6 separate regions of the Homo sapiens genome follow, and regions 1, 2, 4, 5 and 6 are each linked to region 3. The links are contacts of gene promoters, found by promoter capture Hi-C in blood cells and fetal thymus (Javierre and others, 2016). All regions are on one chromosome and are shown on one strand. Each heading gives the region's core, a stretch centred on a gene start or on the middle of the fragment in contact. The rest is flanking DNA. Distances are from core to core; before and after follow the strand shown. Region 1 holds the start of MGMT (O-6-methylguanine-DNA methyltransferase). Region 2 overlaps ATE1 (arginyltransferase 1). Region 3 holds the start of BCCIP (BRCA2 and CDKN1A interacting protein). Region 4 overlaps PLEKHA1 (pleckstrin homology domain containing A1). Region 5 holds the start of WDR11 (WD repeat domain 11). Region 6 overlaps GLRX3 (glutaredoxin 3).

Evidence for each region. The method cuts DNA at HindIII sites, captures the fragments that hold promoters and counts their contacts. A CHiCAGO score of 5 or more calls a contact.
Region 1: a contact is called between a fragment that was not itself captured here and the fragment with the promoter of BCCIP in region 3, in 2 of 17 cell types (naive CD8 T cells and activated CD4 T cells). The highest score is 8.1, in naive CD8 T cells.
Region 2: a fragment that was not itself captured here is called in contact with the fragment with the promoter of BCCIP in region 3 in 3 of 17 cell types (fetal thymus, total CD8 T cells and total CD4 T cells); the score reaches 6.8 in fetal thymus.
Region 4: a contact is called between a fragment that was not itself captured here and the fragment with the promoter of BCCIP in region 3, in 1 of 17 cell types (total B cells). The highest score is 5.0, in total B cells.
Region 5: a contact is called between the fragment with the promoter of WDR11 here and the fragment with the promoter of BCCIP in region 3, in 1 of 17 cell types (total B cells). The highest score is 8.3, in total B cells.
Region 6: a fragment that was not itself captured here is called in contact with the fragment with the promoter of BCCIP in region 3 in 2 of 17 cell types (total CD4 T cells and total B cells); the score reaches 7.1 in total CD4 T cells.

What each region holds. Positions count from the first base shown.
Region 1 is chr10:129,466,621-129,469,894 of GRCh38, reverse strand. MGMT (O-6-methylguanine-DNA methyltransferase) reads right to left here and starts at 2,654. Exons shown (of 5, transcript NM_002412.5): 1 at 2,599-2,654. RefSeq lists silencers at 2,355-2,554, 2,575-3,014 and an enhancer at 1,866-2,788. The HindIII fragment of the contact is 635 bases long and covers 1,610-2,244 here.
Region 2 is chr10:121,921,237-121,924,474 of GRCh38, reverse strand. It overlaps ATE1 (arginyltransferase 1), which reads left to right. Exons shown (of 12, transcript NM_001001976.3): 2 at 146-209; 3 at 2,064-2,126. Among named protein-coding and RNA genes, the nearest start is that of ATE1, 5.2 kb to the left of the region's middle. The HindIII fragment of the contact is 335 bases long and covers 1,530-1,864 here.
Region 3 is chr10:125,822,139-125,825,530 of GRCh38, reverse strand. It overlaps BCCIP (BRCA2 and CDKN1A interacting protein), which reads right to left and starts at 1,985. Exons shown (of 7, transcript NM_078468.3): 1 at 1,809-1,985. The coding sequence starts at 1,973. It overlaps UROS (uroporphyrinogen III synthase), which reads left to right and starts at 2,273. Exons shown (of 10, transcript NM_000375.3): 1 at 2,273-2,502. RefSeq lists silencers at 1,221-1,440, 2,197-2,626 and enhancers at 1,917-2,116, 1,660-2,345. The HindIII fragment of the contact is 3,281 bases long and covers 1-2,201 here.
Region 4 is chr10:122,376,815-122,380,146 of GRCh38, reverse strand. All of the region lies in intron 1 of PLEKHA1 (pleckstrin homology domain containing A1), which reads right to left. Among named protein-coding and RNA genes, the nearest start is that of PLEKHA1, 3.8 kb to the right of the region's middle. The HindIII fragment of the contact is 407 bases long and covers 1,860-2,266 here.
Region 5 is chr10:120,849,723-120,852,614 of GRCh38, reverse strand. It overlaps WDR11 (WD repeat domain 11), which reads right to left and starts at 1,253. Exons shown (of 29, transcript NM_018117.12): 1 at 1,109-1,253; 2 at 1-91. The coding sequence starts at 1,194. It overlaps WDR11-DT (WDR11 divergent transcript), which reads left to right and starts at 1,436. Exons shown (of 3, transcript NR_033850.1): 1 at 1,436-1,921. RefSeq lists enhancers at 769-828, 523-1,066, 839-1,308, 1,469-1,588, 1,067-1,611. The HindIII fragment of the contact is 6,223 bases long and covers 267-2,892 here.
Region 6 is chr10:130,140,339-130,143,666 of GRCh38, reverse strand. All of the region lies in intron 1 of GLRX3 (glutaredoxin 3), which reads right to left. Among named protein-coding and RNA genes, the nearest start is that of GLRX3, 5.6 kb to the right of the region's middle. RefSeq lists enhancers at 1,764-1,823, 1,844-1,913, 1,924-1,973. The HindIII fragment of the contact is 216 bases long and covers 1,839-2,054 here.

The DNA of each region.
Region 1 (3,274 bases), core at 678-3,177, 3.6 Mb before region 3:
TAAAAACAACAACAACAACAATTAGCCAGGTATGGTGGCGCACACCTGTAGTCCCTGGTACTTGGGAGGTCAAAGCAGGAGGTTCGCTTGAGCCCAGGAGCTTGAGGCTGCAGGGAGCTATGATCTCACCACTGCACTCCAGCCTGGGCGAAAGACCAAGACCTTGTCTCTAAAAATAATAAAATAATATTCTGCGGTAAGACCCCAGCTCTTTCAGAAAGTAGCTGCATTAAAAACTACTTGTCCCAGGAAACAGAGGGTCAGGAAGGACCGTAGCAACAGCCCAAGAGCCGAATGAGCACAGGGCCCTGCAGGGTCTGGGAGGCTCAATGTGTCCCCTGGAGGGACTAGAGTCCCAAACGGAAGTCAAAAATCTCAGGGCAAGTGGATCTGGACATGGAACTTTATGCTGGGGAAGGGGGTCAGAATGAAGTGCAGAAACAAGAATAATGCTAAAGGAAAAGATAATGCAGAAAATTCAGTTTTGCCTCCATTTTTTTTCTATCAAAGAGAATATACTGAAAAGAGCATTAGCACCAAAAAGAAAAATGGAAGGTCTGAATCACTGGCTCCTAAATGTGTGTCCTCTGCAAAACAGAACAGACAATTTAGTAACTTTATTTTATTATAAAATACTGAAAGAGTCAGGGTTTTGGTGTCCTAAGAAAGGGTGGGAAGAGGACTGGAGAGGAACAAACTCTGAGGGGGCAATGGGGAAGGCAAGTTCTTTTTCAGGCCCTTCCTACCCCCTTCTTCCCTGCAAAAGGACAGAGGAGGCCCTGATTGAGACACCTGGGGAGGAAACCCAAACAACGAAAAGTAAGGCCCAGGTGATATCAAAGTAAGACCTCAACAAGGTTCAAGAATCTGAGCAGCTGAACAAGGTGCTACCCAATGTATACCTAGGGCTCTATTTCTTTCAACCTTACTAACAGCAAAGCCTTTTTAAAGTAGTGCCTAATACTATTAGTTAAATCCTTATTTTGATACAGATTTTTTTGTTTCCCCTTCAGGACAGTTTCACTCTCGTCGCCCAGGTTGGAGTGCAATGGCGCAATCTCGGCTCACTGCAACCTCCGCCTCCCAGGTTCAAGCAATTCTCCTGCCTCAGTCTCCCAAGTAACTGGGATTACCAGCATGCACCACCACGCCTGGATAATTTTTGTGTTTTTAGTAGAAACTGGGTTTCACCATGTTGGCCAGGCTGGTCTCAAACTCCTGACTTCAGGTGATCCACCCACCTCGGCCTCCCAAAGTGCTGAGATTACAGGCGTGACCCACTGTGCCTGGCCCAGATTTTTTTTTTTTAATGAAGATATATACATTGAAAAGTACCTGAGTATAGCTCCGTACTGGTGGTCTACTTCATCCAGGCCCCTGACTGTGGCAGACACTACTCCACTATTCAAATTCCAACCCGAGACAGAGGGCCCAGGAAGAAAGACACGCGGCAGAGCAAGGCCAGCTCTCCTCTGCTACTTGCAGGCAGACTCCGGGTCTGGGCAAGTATCCTGGCCCTCTGAGTTAACGTGATATTAACAATCAGCCAGGCTCTTGACGCGGTTTCCTTCAAAGTTTTCACACCCCCACCCACCAGGTGCGCTAAGCTTTGGGTTTTTAAAATCTTGTTCATCTCCCAGAGTGTTTTAGCCATTGAGAGGGCCCTGAAAATAACAAAACCATCTCCTAGACACCTGCCCAGGGATGGGGGAGATGACGGGAGAGCCTGACTTAACAGATACTCTATAGGTTTCTATTTGGATGTCTATGTAAATAACCAGTCTAATTCTCAGCTCTCTGTGCTTAACATTCTACTGAGAACAGCTCTCTGGACCAAGCCGCTTCCCTGTCTGATGATGATCTCAGCAGGCATAGGTTGCACACACATGTACAAAGTCTGCTTTCCAGGACAGAAAGCCAGCTACTCAGCTGAAGCAACTGAGAGCAAACACCACCCTGAGATTTCAGGAGATGATGAACCCAGGAGTGCGAAATACATAGTTCAGAACTCCTCTGCGGTGTTATAACCGACATTACGGTGCCCAGTGTGTGTGGCTCTCCAGCGAGCCTTGCTTACTCTAAGTGTTGATGAATACAGTTAGGGTATGATGTACACAAACACCAGCCATAGTAACCAGAAGGCCCCTAGAACTTGGCCTCCAGCAGGAAGGAAATATGGGACTCTGCCTAAGTATGCTAAAGGGTTGCTGCAAGCCAAGGCCCGCGCAGGGGCTTCTGGAAGCTTCCTGGAGCAGCTGGCGGAGGGAAAGCTGGCAGCATGGAAGGGTAGGAAGAACCCGGGGCCCGGGCCTGGGGCTGGCACCTAGAGGTAAGGCAGGGGCTGCCACGACCCCCGCCACACGCCAGTCCACAGTCACTGCAGCGCAGCCTAGTCCAGGAACCCCAGGCCCGGGGAAAGGCTGGGCAACACCTGGGAGGCACTTGGGGCGCACCTGGAGCTCGCCCGGGATGGGTGGGGGTCAGGGCGGCCCCACACCCGACGGCGAAGTGAGGGCGCCTGCAGGACCACTCGAGGCTGCCACCGTCCCGAGGGAGAGCTCCGCACTCTTCCGGGAGCGAGGCGACCCAGACACTCACCAAGTCGCAAACGGTGCGCACCGCGAGGACCTGCGGGCGTCGGGACGCAAAGCGTTCTAGGGGCGCGGGCTGTCCCAGCATATCCGGGGCGCGGGGGCGGGGCCGAGGGGCACGGGGATGGCGGCGTGGGGCGGGGTCTAGAGCGGGGCGGAGCCGAGGACCTGAGAAAAGCAAGAGAGCGCGCGGGGGCGGGGCCGGGGCGCGCGGGGGCGGAGCTGGGGCGGAGCCCGGGAGGGGCGGGGTGTTCCCGCCCGACCGGGTCGGCGCATGCCCTGTGCGGCGGCGCCGGGCCTGAGGCAGTCTGCGCATCCTCGCTGGACGCCGGCACGCCGGCCCTGGTCCTCCGGCAGCGCCGCTGCCCTGTGCGCCTGACCCGGATGGCCCTTCGGCCGGTACAAGCCGGGCGGCGCCTTCCCAGCTTCCGCCTGAGGCTCTGTGCCTTAGTTTGCCAAATGGCCCGTACCTTTTCCTGTCACAGGGATAGTCCGCGGGCGTGCAAGCGACCTGCCACGTGCCCGAGTGGTCCTGAAAGCGCGCGGGGGTCGTAGGACGGCGCCCGCTTAGTGAGAATCCCGGTCCTGCTCGGGGCGGCTACGCTGAGCCCGGAGCGCGAGTCTCTCCCCTCCTGGTGCCGCTCCCCTAGTCAGGGACCCCCAGACCAGCAGAGACCCTGTCA
Region 2 (3,238 bases), core at 448-2,947, 3.9 Mb after region 3:
CCCGCCTTGGCCTCCCAGAGTGCTGGGATTACAGGCATGAGCCACCGTGCCCGGACACACACTCCTATTTTTAAACCTCACACTTTGAATTTAAAAAAGAAAAAAGGTTACCCTGCCGTAATTAACACACTACTTATTTTTTCAGGCATGTGGGCACATTCCATGACAGTACAGGATTATCAGGATCTCATAGACCGAGGATGGCGAAGGTAAAGCTTCCAGATACAAAGAGACTTCCTACTGTTACTCAGGTTCTTGAAAAATACAGCATGCCTTTGAAATGCTTTCCTGTTGGAAAGAGGTTTAAGAAAAATTTTTATTATATTCTTTTATGTAGTGATTTTTTGTCTCCTTTTTAAAAAACTTTGTTAGGAAAATGTCAAATATCTATAAAAGCAGAGAGTACATTAGAATGAACCTCAAGTACCTATCACTAAGCTTCAGCAGTTATTAACGTTCTGCCAATCATGTTTGATTCTCCTGCTCCACCTTTTAATATTTAACAGCAAATTACATCAGTAGGTTATTATGACATTTATCCTATCAATAGATAGGCAATAAGTATGTATCTCTAAGAGAGAGGTCTTTTTTTCTTTTTAACTTATCCACAATGCTGTATCACACCTTACAAAATTAATAAAAATTCTTTGATGTTACCTGTTACCTACTTTTTATTAGATTTTCCAGATTGTCTCAAAAATGTCTTCTTTAACAGTTTATTTGGATAAGGATTTCCTTAAAGTCCACACATGGCCTGTTTTGAGTAGTTATTTTTATGTGGATGATTTTTAAGTAACTCTTAGGTAAAGTTCCTTGTGTAAATATAAGTAATATTAAATACTGTACGCTAATACTTGCCAAAGACGTGGGATTGGGAGCACCAGCTGAAATATCACAACTTTCCTTAAACTTAATGAGATTCAAAAGGTAGACATAGGTCAGATTTTAAAGGACTTCACATGCCATGATAAGGAACTTTTTTTTTTAGAGACATGGTCTCGCTCTGTTGCCCAGGCTAGAGTCGCTCTCTTGCCCAGGCTAGAGTACAGTGCCATCATCATAGCTCACTGTAACCCCAAATTCCCACACTCAAGTGATCCTCTTGCCTCAGCCTCTGCAGTGGCTAGGACTACAGGTGTGCATCACAACACCTGGCTAATTTTTCAGTTTTTTGTAAGATCTTGGCTATGTTGCCCGTGCTGGTCTCGAACATCTGGTTGCAAGTGTTCTTCCAGCTTAGCTTTTCAAAGTGTTGGGATTATAGGTATGAACCACCATGCCTGGCCAGAACTTTTTAGAAGGCAGTCATGGAAGGATTTTATGGTAAGAGAGAAATGTGAAGGAATTTGTTTTAGAAAAGATTGTTCAGATGGCTGAGAGGTATTTGAGGGGGGGTCATAGAGGCAGGAAGATGAGTTCAAAGGTTATTGCGCTATCCAGATGTGCGATGATGAGGACTGTCACCTTAGTGGCAATGGTGATAGAGAAGAGGGGACAATTTAGGATAGGGTTTAAAATGAAGGAAAGCTTGCTAATAGGATATAGAGGTGAATTCCAGGGAGGAGTTTAAAATGACTCCCAGGTCTCTGACTTGAGAACAGAATGAACAGTTCTGTTAGTACCATAGACCTGGAATGCATGGAAAGAAGCGGGTTAGTTTTGGGGTACTCCGTGCTGGTGCATGTGGAATACCCAAGTGTGGTTGTCACAGGCATCACATACATGAGTCCCACAGCATCGTGGGCATTTCTCTCATTGCCCTTGTGGTATTGGGGATTGGTGGCAGGTGAAGGCAGAGCAGGGGTGGCAGATGCTGGTGAGAGGGGAACTGAGATGATTGGCCGTGGGGTACACAAGTAAAGCTTTAGGAAATAAAAGGCAGGGTTCTAAACTTTGCTACACGCACTTTGAAGATTATTTGGCTTATGAAGAGTAATTAAACCTACATGCATTTCTACAATGTTGATTAGATTTTTAACCTTAATTTAATGCTCCTGTGCTAGGCTGTTTTGGTGCAAGTGAAAAATATATAAGACATTAACAAACTATTTTTATAATTTTAGAAGTGGAAAATATGTGTACAAACCTGTCATGAATCAAACATGTTGTCCTCAGTACACAATAAGGTAAGAATTTTAATTAGTAGAAAGAGGATTTATAGTATGAAGATTGTGTATAATATTTTAGTAGTCTCTTGTGCTTTTTTAATGTTTATTTCCGCTCTAGGTAGATGTCCTTTAAAAGGAAAAGTAAATGAGTTATGTCTTTTCTTCATACTGATGCTGTATTTATGTGCTGATCAGTAGGTTTTAGTAATATTGTTTGATTGGTTCAGATATAAATATGTGAAAAAAATACCCTCTTAATTTAGCAATCTTGTCAATGAATGCCATGAAATATTGGGAAAATGTTGGTAAATATTCACATTACTTTTGGATATTAAATATTATAGGACTTAGCTTAGAATTTTCTGCATTCTGGTGTATTGCTTGACACAGTGCTTGTGTTCAAGCAATGCTACAGGCTCCTATAAATTACTTGGTAGGTTCACGTTCTCATGTTGTGGGATTCAGGAGGACAAGAGAGACCTCGGGTTAAAACAGGAGAAACTTTATTGAGTGCACTTAGGCCCAGCTGACTCAACGTCTAAAAGACTGGGCCCGGAACAAAGACTTTTATACACAGTTCACAGAAGGGGGTGGGCTAGCTTGAAGCAAGCTTACAGTGGCGTGAAAGCAGGGATACAGAGGCAGGACAAACTCAGGATTGCACATGACCGTTGCCAAGCAACCCAGATGTCCGTTATCTAGGTTTGCCTGGGCTTATCCCATAATCTTCACTATGGTGCCCAGGCAGCTGCAGTTCAGGCCTACTCAGGCTTCTCATGACATTCATTGTACTTCTCAGATAAAACAATACTTGAAGTCACTAGTTACAGAGAACAGGAATCTATGAACTCATTCCGTAAAACAAAGGAAAATTTATTTTTTCTTCTCTGCATGTTGAGTGCTGGGAGAATCTCCAGAGCACACTAGATAATATTATCAAGGCTTTTCCTGGGTCTGGGCCGTGCCTGTTGCTGCCTCTGGGACAAGTCGGCCTAATACAGGAAAGCTTATTTATCTTTCTTTTTAATTTTATTTTTCTTTAATTTCCCACCTCACTCACTTATAAGTGGGAGCTAAACCTTGGGTACTCAGACATAAAGATGGCAAAAGTAGAAGCTGGAGACTACTAG
Region 3 (3,392 bases), core at 736-3,235:
AGCTTTGCAGACTTCAAATGCTAACTTAGCCAGATTATGTGAGCAGCAAAACACAAGGGGTCGGGTGGGAGTGTTCCAAACAGGATCAAACTAAACCAAATAACAAACTGTCATTATTCAGGACTTAAACTTATTCCTTAGATATAAATACATTCTGTAAATAATGCTCATCTAGTGTTTTTTTCTTTGTCTAGACAGACATCTCGGACCTCTGTCCCAGACTATTATGGCACCACCAGGGAAATGGGCGGCAAATGGATTATCTGTCCAGCACCCTTTTCCTGGGTATGGGCTCATCTCCACATGGCTTCAGCAGGAACAGTCACGTTTGTAGAAAAGAGCCCTGTCCCTCATTCCCAGGTGATTTAGAATTAAGACTGTGGTGGTGTGATAGATTTCCCATGTTAACACAAGCAGCATTGATTTCTATAACCCAAAAGTAATAAAAGAGCCAGTCAAAGTTCTAAGTGAAAAATGGTGAGATGGCATTCAAGGCATAGAGCCAAAGTAAAATTTGTAAGGGAAGGAAGATTGATCACATACCCACACCATGGTGTCACCTCTAATCCTGCATCCATGCTTCTCTCCATGCTCCCCTCCATGCTCATCATGACTCATGATTACCTCTCTGATTTTATTTCCTATCACTCTCTCTTCCTTATTCTGATCCAGCCATCTAGGCTGCCTTTCCGTCCCTCAATTGTGAAGACTCTTGATTTTCTTGTAAATGAACTAGAAAGCCAATGCAGCAATCTAAGCAGAGGCCTGAGATCAGACCTATAAGATCTCTCTGACTGTAAGTGGAGTATAGACTGATTGTAGGGGAACAAAAATGGAGAAAAGAACGCCGGTTAAAAGCTGTTACATTAAATAGTAGTCCAGGCAAGAGATGATAGAGGTGTGGACTACGATGGTCTCAGAATTAGTGCTGAGAAATGTCTGGATAACAGGATTTACTGATGGGCTGGATATAGGATGAGGAAAGGGAGGAATTAAAGTTAAGCCCCAGGTTTTGGGTTAGAGCAGCTGGTGACTTTAGGGGCCATTTATAGAAATGGTGACGATTAAGAGAGGGGCATGAATTATTATACAAATTCTGCTTTGGACAAGTTAAGGCTGAGGTATCTATTTAAACATTCAGTAGGCTGAAGGATCATTCAGTCCTAATTGTTTACTAAACAAATAATAAGTACCTATATTGCCAGGCACTACGGTAGGACCTAGTCTGAAGAAAGGAACACAGTTCTATGAGACTATGAAACCAAAGATTTACCCACGACTTGGTCAGCTGCCCCAGGAGCCAGAAAATACAGCCTAGCTGAGATCTGAAGAAGGAAGGGAAAACTGCAGGATAAAGAAGAGCATTTGAAAAGGCTTCTACGGTAGAACGCGGCAAGAGCCTTCAAGAAACTGAGGGCCCAAGTGAGTGCCGCCCGCAGAGTGAAGAGGAGGACAGCTGCTGCCCCGAGGGGAGAGGGCCCCCTCTGCGAGCCCGGGGTGGCCGATTCAGGATCTGAGGCTTCAGCCTGAGAACTAAAGAGGACGAGAAGAACACACCTGTTGTGGCGGGCTTTTTCGGGGAGGACGCGGGTTGGGAGATTAACTGGACCGGACTAGACCTTTAAAAAATAACTACTATGGCTGCAGTGTGTTAAAGACCGAGGAGAAACCTGAGAAAGAACTTATCTCCAGTTTCTCCTCACAGACCCTCAGGGTCAGGGAAGACCCTACACTATTTTTACACAGCCTGGGCTTGCCAAAAAGTTTTTCTCAGGTATAAACCAACTAGGGGAGCGTGTCCTTCTCACCTCGTCAATGACCTCGTCCTCTTCATCCTTTTCCTTGTCACTGTCATCATCGTCTTCATCCTCATTTTCGACTTCTTTTTCCTCTTCCTCGTCGCGCTGGACTGGGGGATCCGGCGGCTGCGGAACCCCACTTTCCACGGCACGCCGCTTAGACCTGGACGCCATGTTGCCGCTCACACTGCGCCTGCGCAGCTTCCCCTTGCCTGACCTTCCGGACCAGCCCATAGTAGCCAAGGGGGTGAGGAACTACGAAGAAGCTCGGCGCTGAGTGCACGTCAACCCCAATGCCCCTGCTGGATTCCGCAGCCATGACCCCTTACAGTCACGTCCAGCTTGCGGTCCCATCTTGCTTTTTTCTTCCGCTTTCCACCCTCCATCACTCCTCCCAAAGCTTCCCCTCCCCTTCCCGTAGTGGTTCAACCCATCTAACCTCTGGCCTCATTCCGTGGCCTGGATGGCGGTGCGCATGCGCGAGCGCCTAGCTGCGCGCAGCCACCCACGCGACCCCAGTCTGAGGTGCGGGGTCCTGGGGCCCGGCGCGGGTGGCCGCCGCGGCCCCTCGGGCTGCGTGGGGAGGGGGCTTCCGCCCCTGTTGTCATTGCTCCTGCAGCCTTTTCGCTGGGACTGCGCGACACCGCCCCCCGACCGGGTGCCCGCTGTGTGCCAGGCCGGGTGCTGGGCACGGTCCCGCGAGGTAGGTGTCGCCGCCCGCTGTACCGGTACGGACGCCGAAGCCCGCGGGCGTGCAGGGGCCCGGCCCCGGGCGGTGTGTGACACAGTGGGGCCAGGGCCCCGAGGCTTCCGCGGACCTGGGCCTGCCCAGGCGGGGATGTCCGCTGCCGCTACCGCTGCGCCGGTGACGGAAGGCGCCTGCCCAGCCTACCCTCGCCGAGCTTCTGGAGCGCATTTCTTGACCTAAAAGTTTTTTTAAAGCCGGCACCGCAGTTAAAAATGCTTCGGCGGGGGGCCGGGCCCGGTGTCTCGCGCCTGTAATCCCAGCACTTAGGGAGGTCAAAGCGGGTGGATCACCAGAGGTCAGGAGTTCGAGACCAGCCTGGCCAACATGGCAAAACCTCATCTCTGCTAAAAGTACAAAAATTAGCCGGGCGTGGTGGCGGACACCTGTAATCCCAGCACTTTGGGAGGCCGAGATGGGTGGATCACTTGAGGTCAGGAGTTCGAGACCAGCCTGCCCAACATGGCGAAATCCCATCTCTACTAAAAATACAAAAACTAGCCAGGTGTGGTGGTGCGCGCCTGTAGTCCCAGCTACTCAGGAGGCTAAGGCAGGAGAATCGCATGCCCCCAGGAGACGGAGGTTGCAGTGAGCCGAGATCGCGCCACCGCACTCCACACTCCAGCCTGGGCGACAGAGGTAGACCCTATCTAAAAAAAAAAAAAAATGCTTCGGGGCCAGTGGGGTAGTCTAGGTTAAAGACCCGAGCCTATTTGGAGAGAAGAGTGGAGGGGACTGCGGCCAACTGCAGAGCGAGCGCCAGCCCCTGTGGCAGGTGGGGATGCAGCCTGGGGCAGCCAGGTCTTCCCATTGCGAGAGAAACAGGGTTCATCAGCTTTCTAGGAATA
Region 4 (3,332 bases), core at 814-3,313, 3.4 Mb after region 3:
AAGAATCATTTACCAGATTTAACTGATTTATTTAAATAATGGAAGGAAAAAGTTTCAAATACTGTATTTCCACTTAAATTTATATTTTTAGTGAAACTTACATGAGGCAAAACCAGACACAATTATATTATTAACATGCCTCCCAACCCAAATTTCTCCTTCAGCTTTACTCATACTCTAAGGTATAGTTAGATCTTACAAATCAGTCATAAATTAACATAATTACAGTTAACACCTCATCAGTCAGGAACCAGGAAGCCAAAAAATAAGGCAAAACACAGAAACAGCCTGAGTGATATAAGAAAAAGCAAAGAAAAATTAAATTCTGTACAGTGAGACCTCAACAGGCCCACAAGACTTCACTATTATTTGTTAAAACATGTCGAGTGGGACTAGTCCTGTTGCCCCACAATCACTGACAAACACAAAGCTGAGGATATATAGACATAGAGGATCAAATATCTGTAGAGTCAGGCATGGCTCTGGCACCCTAATCAGCACCATCCTTCCACTCTGCAAGAGCAGTTGACAGAAGAGAGGGAAAGAACTGTAAGTCTTCAGGGAGAACGCAGGGAAAAGAAGGAGGTCTTCACCAAAACAGTGGCAGGGGCCTCTAACAGAAATCACTCATGAAGATCAGAGGAGCCTAGAACAGACTTGCATCCCATTCTCCAGTTCCACATCTGCTTATGCAGCAGACTGAGTGACTGACCCCATGTGTCTACTTGAAAAGGGGGACAAAGAGAATTGATGAGAAATGGCAGGGCACAGAAAGAAGGCAGACTTAAGTAGTCTGTATGCCACTATTCGACATCACAAGGAAGTGAGTTTCCAGTGGGTTGAATAGAAACCACAGCGTACCTGGATTGAAGTTGTTTTGCCATTATCAAAATATCTCGCTGCAGAGAGAAAAGATCTCCACCCCGACTCACACACATTCACGTAACCAGTGGGTAAACTGACAGGATGGGAGCAAGCAGATGGGTGTGTAGGTTGGAAAAGGTTTAGCTACAGAAAATTTCATACCCAGAAACTGTGCAGCAGGAGTCTCCCTGCAAGATCTCACCAAAAATGCCAGTTTGGTTGCCTATTAGTAGACTGCAATGGCCTGCCACTGTTAATCAAGAGAGGACTCTAATAGCACCAGATAACAAACACTTGTCTTTTTCTACTTCTCTTCTTGACACATTTGTATCCAAATAGATCCCTTAAGAGGGAAAGGAAAGAAGTATCCCAGGAGCTTACCACAAGCCGTCCATACCCCAAGTGCTTCAGTAAGTAAGTGGCCTGACCACAGGGTAAGGAAGGGAAAAAAAACCTTTAAATTGAATATATATGAGATTGAATGTTCAAACTGGAATAGACTGCAATTTTTTGTTTTTGTTTTTCTGTTTTTTTTTTTTTTTTGGAGACAGGGTCTCACTCTCCTGTCACCCAGGCTGGAGTGCCACAGCACAGTCTCTGTTCACTGGAACCTCTGCCTCCCAGGCTCAAGGGATCCTCCTACAACAGCCTCCCAACTAGCTGGGACTACAGGCACATGCCACCACGCCCGGCTGATTTTTCTATTTTCTGTAGAGACAAGGTTTCGTCATGTTGCCCAGGCTGGTCTCAAACTCCTGGGCTCAAGCTATCCTCCCACCTCGGCTTTCTGAAGTGCTGGGATTACAGGCATGAGCCACTGAGCCCAGCCTAGAGCTTTTTGATAACTGTAAATGACAGAAAAGCTATCATTTACCCATGATGTTATGGGGGGTGGGGGACAGGGGGGTGGGAAAGAGCCTACAAAATACAGTTAAAGGCAGTGAATAGTGAAAATTAAAACTCATTAAAACTCTTGTGTTTGTTCTCAGTAAGCTTGGACTGCTGAATAACCTGATGACATATGCAATAGCATTCTCATCCTTAATAATGGGAGGGAACACCTGACATGGAAATTCTCAGGAGGGATTTACTGTACCGGGTAAGATGCTACATTAGAAGCCCTCTGACATCACTTCCAATTCTAGTGCCTGTGATCGTCTTTTCCTTCAAGAGGTTAAATTCAATCCAGAATCTAGAGTTCAATGGTTAAACCATAAAAGGCTAGGCTGCCTAAAGGGCTAAAAACCACAACTTTCTGGAGAATAAAGCTATCAGACTGACAAGCCTGGTAAGAGTTCCATGTAGGAAACAATATTTTGCTCTAAAACTTATTTAACTTAAAAAAATCTTAAATGACTAATTTTCTTTTATATCCAACAGAAATTCCAGTTCAAAGAAAGCTTATAAAATCCCAAAAACCCTATCTTCCTGAATATTATCAATTCAACTAATTAAAAGGCTTACTAAAATAAATAGCAAACATATGTTTGCTTAAGCATCTTCTAGGAATCACAAACTCACATATCCCTTATTAGACAGTACCCACAAGAAAAAAAGTTACTTAGGGTCAAATGGTTTAATATTGCTCAGTAAGTGTAAGAGAGTTCTAGTGCTATAACAAATAACAGGATGCTTTATGTTTACATAAAAACATCCCATATTTTTATGTTTCTAAAAATAATTAAGCATTATAAACAATCATCTAAAGCTACCAAGTTTTCTGCCCTTTCTGAAAGCATTCCTTTCAGACACCATGTCAATAAATTCTTAAATGCTGGATGTGTACTCACAAATGGTCAAAAAACCTAAAACCAAATCTTAATATTTAACTCCTATTGAAGTCATTTTATTGTATCATTGCAGATCTAAAACAAGATTTTTTAATCTTGAAATTTAAATTTTAATATTAACAAAAGTAAACTGCTCCAGCATGAGAAAAGTAATTATTTGCATATTACCTCAGCTCACAGTTGGAATCAAATAGGAAATACTTTAAGGCAGTTAGTTATATCAACCCAAAATTTTCTAATAAAAGCAATGTTACTATTGTCACAAATAATTACTACACTATATTCAGAAAACTATCTTCCCCATTCTCAAATAAGTTATTTAAACAATAATGACTTGACATCAAGCAATATGTCAATGTCAAAGTATGACTTAAATTATATTAATAAACTATTTATTAGATTTCATTCTGGGTTACAAATTATCACACAATTAAAATAACTTCGGGATTTGCAGCATGACTAATAATAATAAAGAACTTCCAGGCTTAAGTCAAAAAGCCACTTTGTTTAAATCTCCATTAAATGTTTTTTGTGGGGGGAAGTCCCCATAAAAATGTAAAATGTTTCCACCTTTCCCAAGTATCTTCCTAGGAGTGGTCAATATTGTCATATCCTATATGTTAGCAAACGATACTTGAATGACTTTTAAAGAAAAGAATCCAATGCTATTCTTAACAT
Region 5 (2,892 bases), core at 4-2,503, 5.0 Mb after region 3:
CTTTTCTAAAACTTGAAGAGTTTGGGCAGTAATGGAATCAATCACTACCACAAGTGAATGACATCCATAAGCAATTAAACCTTGCCAGCCCCTAGCAAAACAGTAATGTTAAAGTTTAAGTACAGAACAAAGCAGGACGACTTCTTTCTTGCCAAGCCTAAATAAATGATAAGTCTAATTCATATGTACCACCATTAATAAAATCATTTAAACCCAAAGGCCAGTATTTATCATTATCCCACTTAAATAAAAGATCTGGCTAAGCTTAAAATGCTTGTTGAAATTCACTTTTCATTCGGATAAAAAAAGTTCTAAAAGATATGAAAATAGAGACCCGAGGACATAAAAAGGAACTTGTGCCCTCTGACTGTTCTTGTAGGCATACGTCTTTCGCTTATCCGATTTCTAATCCTTAGTATCCACAATGTGCCTGGGGATACTGCGACTAATCCTAGTCCTTCCAACTAAATAAAACGACAAACACTGCACAAGACGTTTCAGTCCTCCTAACAACATCCCACAGCCACAGAATTTTGCTTTACATTTGTCTAATGAGTAGTTTTCAGAGCTGCAGTAGTAATTTATAGTGAAAGGAGAGAGTAATAAAGACGACCTGTTGAAGGCAGGAATGTTCTACACAGGAGGAGCCCGAAAAGAGGTGAAAAGGACAGGTGAAAGAACAGGCGCCTAGCACAGGGTCTGGCACATTGTTGAAAGACAACAGGAATACAAGACAACGAAAAAGAAAAGACAGGATGGGAAAGAGAAAGTGCACAGGGAATTAATGGTGGAGAGAGAGAAGCCTGGAAGCTGGAGGAGAGGAAAAGAGAGAGGAATGGAACGGCAAAAGGGCGAGGTGCAGAGAAAACAGCAGAGAAATACGCGAGAAAGAGGGGAAATGTATTTGCATGGGGGAATTTCCCACACGGGGCTATTATCACTTTTGTAACAACAAAAATCCACCAACTGAAAGCAAGCTCATTGCGTGAGGGCGGCTCCCTGCCTTAGCGAGGCCAAACTAACCAGGGGGTGAAACCTCTTGTCCTTCCCCCTTCCCCCTCACACATTCCTGGCCGATCCTGGCGACCTGGAAGCTCGGCGTCCTCACCAGTCCACCGCCGCCTTGTTGTGGGCGTTGAGGGCCCCCGTGAGGGTGCGCGCCGACACCTTGAAGTTCACTGTGTAGGGCAACATCCCGGCGGCCAGCCCAGGACCTGGGCGCTGACCCGCAACCAGGAAGCGGCGGACACTGTGCTTCCGTTCCAAACAGAGTCCGGGTGGCCCCCTCGGCGCCGCTGTCAGGTTCCTCTAGATTCAAGTTCTACAGGCTCCGGGTTCCACCGCTCCCGGATTCCATCGCCCCCAGGTTCCGTTGCCTTCAGTTTCCTAGGATCCTAGGTTCCGCACTCTCCAGAGTTCCGCCGCTTAGGCGGTTGTGCTAATCTGCGTCAGCTGGGGCTGTATTTGGAAGAAGAGGCGCTGCCTCCAGTCAAGTCTGTTTTTTTCAGGTGGGGACTGTAGGCCTTTGTGCCCTGCTGGAAATCGTGAAAAGCAAGAGAGAAGAGTCCCAGTTATTCTTGCTGCCTTTGATAAGTGAATTTAGGGCAACTACTAGTGCCAGTAGGCATGGGGGATCTACCGATGAAGAAGACACAAAGTCTCCGCTCTCGTGGAGTTTACAGAGAATAATGAATGAGATTAATTAAGAAATGAATGAGATTAATTGAATGAAATTGCCAGACTGAATGAAGTGAATGGCCTGAATATAAACAATTTCCAAATACAGATAACACTGCATATCTGGTGTTTGCAATACTCCCTTCGCACTTGAGGAAGAAGCACTATGTCTGGGGCCAAGTGTGACCCTTTGTCTGTTGCTGGGTACCTTTCATTTCGCACTTTCTCCTCTGCTGCTCTCCAGGTCAGACCCAGTCCTTCCCTCCTTTGTGTTCAGTGTTGGGTTTATACGCTTTAACTATAGCACTTAATGCAATGATTTCTTTTCAGCAATGATATTTGCAGATGTGTGTTTCTCTCCCCAATACATTGTTAGTTTCATGCGCGTCCGTGTGAAGAGACCACCAAACAGGCTTTATGTGAGCAATAAAGCTGTTTATTTCACATGGGTGCAGGTGGGCTAAGTCCGAAAAGAGTCAGCGAAGGGAGATAGGGGTGGGGCTGTTTTATAGGATTTGGGAAGGTAATGGAAAATTAGTCAAAGGGGGTTGTTCTCTGGTGGGCAGGGGTGGATCTCACAAAGTACATTCTCAAGGGTGGGGAGAATTACAAAGAACCTTCTTAAGGGTGGGGGAGATTACAAAGTACATTGATCAGTTAGGGTGGGGCAGGAACAAATCACAGTGGTTGAATGTCATCAGTTAAGGCTGTTTGTACTTCTTTTGTGGATCTTCAGTTACTTTAGGCCATCTGGATGTATACATGCAAGTCACGGGATGCGATGGCCTGGCCTGGGCTCAGAGGCGTGACATTCCTGCCTTCTTATATTAATAAGACAAAACAAAATAGTGTTGAAGTGTTGAGGCGGCGAAAATTTTTGGGGGGTGGTATGGAGAGAGAATGGGTGATGTTTCTCAGGGCTGCTTCAAGTGGGATTAGGGGTGGCGTGGGAACCTACAGTGGGAGAGATTAAGCTGAAGGGAGGTCTTGTGGTAAGGGGTGATATTGTGGGGATGTAAGAAGAAACATTTGTCGTATAGAATGATTGGTGACGGCCTGGATACGGTTTTGGATGAATTGAGAAACTAAATGGAATAAGAGAAGGAGAAAAACAGGTATAAAAGGTCTAAGAATTGGGAGGACATAGGACATCTGATTAGAGAGTGCCTAAGGAGATTCAGCATAGTCCTGCCAGCAAAGATTATTTATTTACTT
Region 6 (3,328 bases), core at 697-3,196, 4.3 Mb before region 3:
TACTCAGCATTCTGGCAGACTAAGGTGGAAGGATTACTTGAGCCCAGGGGGTCGAGGCTGTAGTGAGCCATGATCATACCACTACACTCCAGTGTGGGCAACAGAGCAAGACCCATTTAAAAAAAAAAAATTCTAAACATTTATAGTATGAACACACAGAATATATTAATAACTCAGTATCTATTTTAGTTAGTTTTCACACAAAATTATCTTGGCAAAGATATCTATGGTCATATCCAACTAAAAAATCCTTCAGTTTTATGGAATTCTGTTCAAATATAATACCACCTCCCAAAAAAATCTGAAAAATCACGAACAGAAATATGTTCCATGGCAAAAAGAACCAAGGACAACTAACCTATGGGTAAGGAAAGGAATAACAAACTGTAAAAACTGATCAAATAATACCAGCGAGAAGAGAATAAGCCTACAATAAAGTGTCAGGAAAGCAGAAGCAAAGAGCAGCATGAGGATTTCGAAGGTAGAAGGGGCAGGATTTGGTGACAGATAAGGCAGTCTACAGCTGGCTCCAAGTTCTGGCTTAGAGACTGATGGCTAGTGGTGGCACTATGCCTCAAATCATAGTGCAGAAGCTGCCAACCTGAGGAAAGGAAGTTTAATGGGTTGTTAGTATGATGTCTAGAGCTCAGGGAAGAAGTCTGCACCTGATATACAGATTTGGGAATCAAGAAAGGAACAGTGCCAGCACCACACCGCAAAGGGTTACAGAGGGACACAGAGGAGACCCGAGGTCAGCGCCTCAGGGGGCTTATCAACATTAAGTTAGGACAGATGGAGGAGAAGGAACTTATGTAGTAAAGCAGAGAAGGGGTCCTAGGCGGTACTGGAAGATTAAGGGGTCCTAGGCGGTACTGGAAGATTGAAGGGTCACATAGAAGTCAAGAGAAGAGTGTCAAGAGGGAGTGACAATCATCCAATGCAACAGGAAAGGGCAACTAACAGAGAGAGTACCTTCAATGGAATAGCAGAAGCACAGGTCAGACTGCAGTCCACTGAGGACTGAAGTGAAGATGAGGAAGCAGAGATGTACTCTAAGAGATCTGTACAGGCAGAGAAAAAGACAAAATCAAGGGATGGGCCTTTTTAATACAAGAAAATCCTTATATGTTTATTTTACTAGGGGATAGTGCAAATGGAGAGGGAAGGGCCGTAGACACAAGACAGCTGAGGATGCAAGGACTCAGAAGAGGCAGGAGAGGGGAAATCCAGAGCAGAGAAGAGCTTACCTTGAAGAAGAAGAAGGCAGTCTCCTCTGAGTCAGGAGCCAAGGAATTAAGAATGGGTAAGGCTACAAATAAATGGTAAGTGTTGGGAGAGGTGAGAGTGGAAGGAGGGCTTGGGGAGATGCTACCTGAAATCCTGTTTTCTCTCAGGTGGGAAGCAAGGTCATTTATCAAAGCATAGGAAAACAGAGGGCAAGACCACTGGTAGGACTGATGAAGGGAGAGTGTCCACAGGCACACAAGGAAAGCAGGAAGCTCCAAATGAAGACCCACCTAAGGCAGGGAAGGACACATTGTAGGAGCCCCTAGTCACCGGATGTTAATTTGCATCCAGCACAACTCAGCAGCTTCAATGGTTGAGTAGGTGGGGCCTCAGGTCCACGGCAGAGACTGTGCTGTTTCAATCAAGCACTGTTTCATCTTCCTCCTGTGCATTCAGCTAGATTACATTTTTCAGTCTTCCTTGCAGTTGTCTGGGGCCCTGGAACTGAATTCTGGCCCTAAAACTAGAACACAGGCCTGACCCCTCAAAACCCTCCCTCAGGAGCCTCTGCCCACCATAGCCTCCAGCAATGAAGAGGATCCAGGGAAGCTTTTTTGTCCATTGCCTAAGGATGGCAAGAACAAAACAGAGGTTCACAGAGGCCTCATGCAAGAATGCTCACAGCAGCCCTATACATAATAAATCAAAACTGGAAATTAGCCAAATGTCCGCCAACAGGAGAAAGTGATAGACATTCATACAACAGAATGTAACTTACCAGTAAAAAGGAACCAACCACAGACATGAGCAATGACACAAATGAAGCTTGAAAATATGTGAGCAAAAGATAACACAGACAAAGAACTGTATGATTCTACTCACACAAAGTCCAAGAGCAGGGAAAACTCATCTACAGTGACAGTAAGAAATCAGTAGCTGGGCTAAAGGGGATGGAAAACTTCCTGGGTTCTATATTCTTCCTGTGAATGGTGGTTATCGGTGTGTATACAATTGTGAAAATTCACCACATCTGACGATTAAGATCTGTGCATTGTTACTGTATGTAATACTTCAATTTCTTTTTAAAGCTGGGATACCATTTTCCACCAAATTGACCAAAAAAAAAATTTTTTTTTTCTTTTTTTGAGACAGGGTCTTACTCTAATGCCCAGTCTGGAGTGCAAGGCAAGTGCAGCCTCGACTTCCTGGGCTCAGGTGATCCTCCCACCTCAGCCTCCCAGACTACAGGCATATTTTGTTCTTTGTAAAGTTGGGCTTTGGCCAATGACCAGGCTGGTCTCAAACTCCTGGGCTCAAGCAATCAATCTGCCTGCATTCGCCTCTCAAAGTGCTGGGATTACAGTCATGAGCCACCGTGCCCAGCCAACAAAAGGACTGTTTAAATCATAATATTCAATGATAAAAAGGATGACGAGAAGTACTTTCATGTCCTGCTGGTAAAAATTAAATTGGGACCTTTCAGAAATTTCTTACACATAAGTATCAATCCTAAGGAAGTAATTAAGAGACAAAGATTTTCTGTACATGGATATTTTCCCACTACTTTACGTAGCAAATCAGAAAAATTTCTGATGCTCAATAATAGTTTTTAAATGGTCATAAGAAAACATAAAGCCATTACAAATCAAATTTTCAAAGAACTTTCAACGCCACAGGAAAATACTAATATAACTACATTTTTCAAAAATTAAAGTAGGTTACCAAACTTTATAATAGTATGAGCCCAAATAAGTAAAAAAGAAAAGAAGAAAGTATGCCATAGAAACTGAATTCATTTCAGTTTCATTATTACTAACATGGTTTTGAAGAGTAATTTAACTTCCACATCTGTAAAACAGCAATAACCAACACTCTGGGATGTTGAGAAGATGAAACAAAAATATAAAACATTTGAAAACATTAAAACATGATATTGTTAGTTGAAATTATCCACAATATTCTCCTATTTAATGCTTACCTTCCATTTCTCAATTAAGCACATAATGTCCAATATTATAAGGACATACTATATCTGAAACAAATATAAACGTTATCCCCTTTTGGATTACATGTTACAGTATTCTTTCCATCTTAATGGATA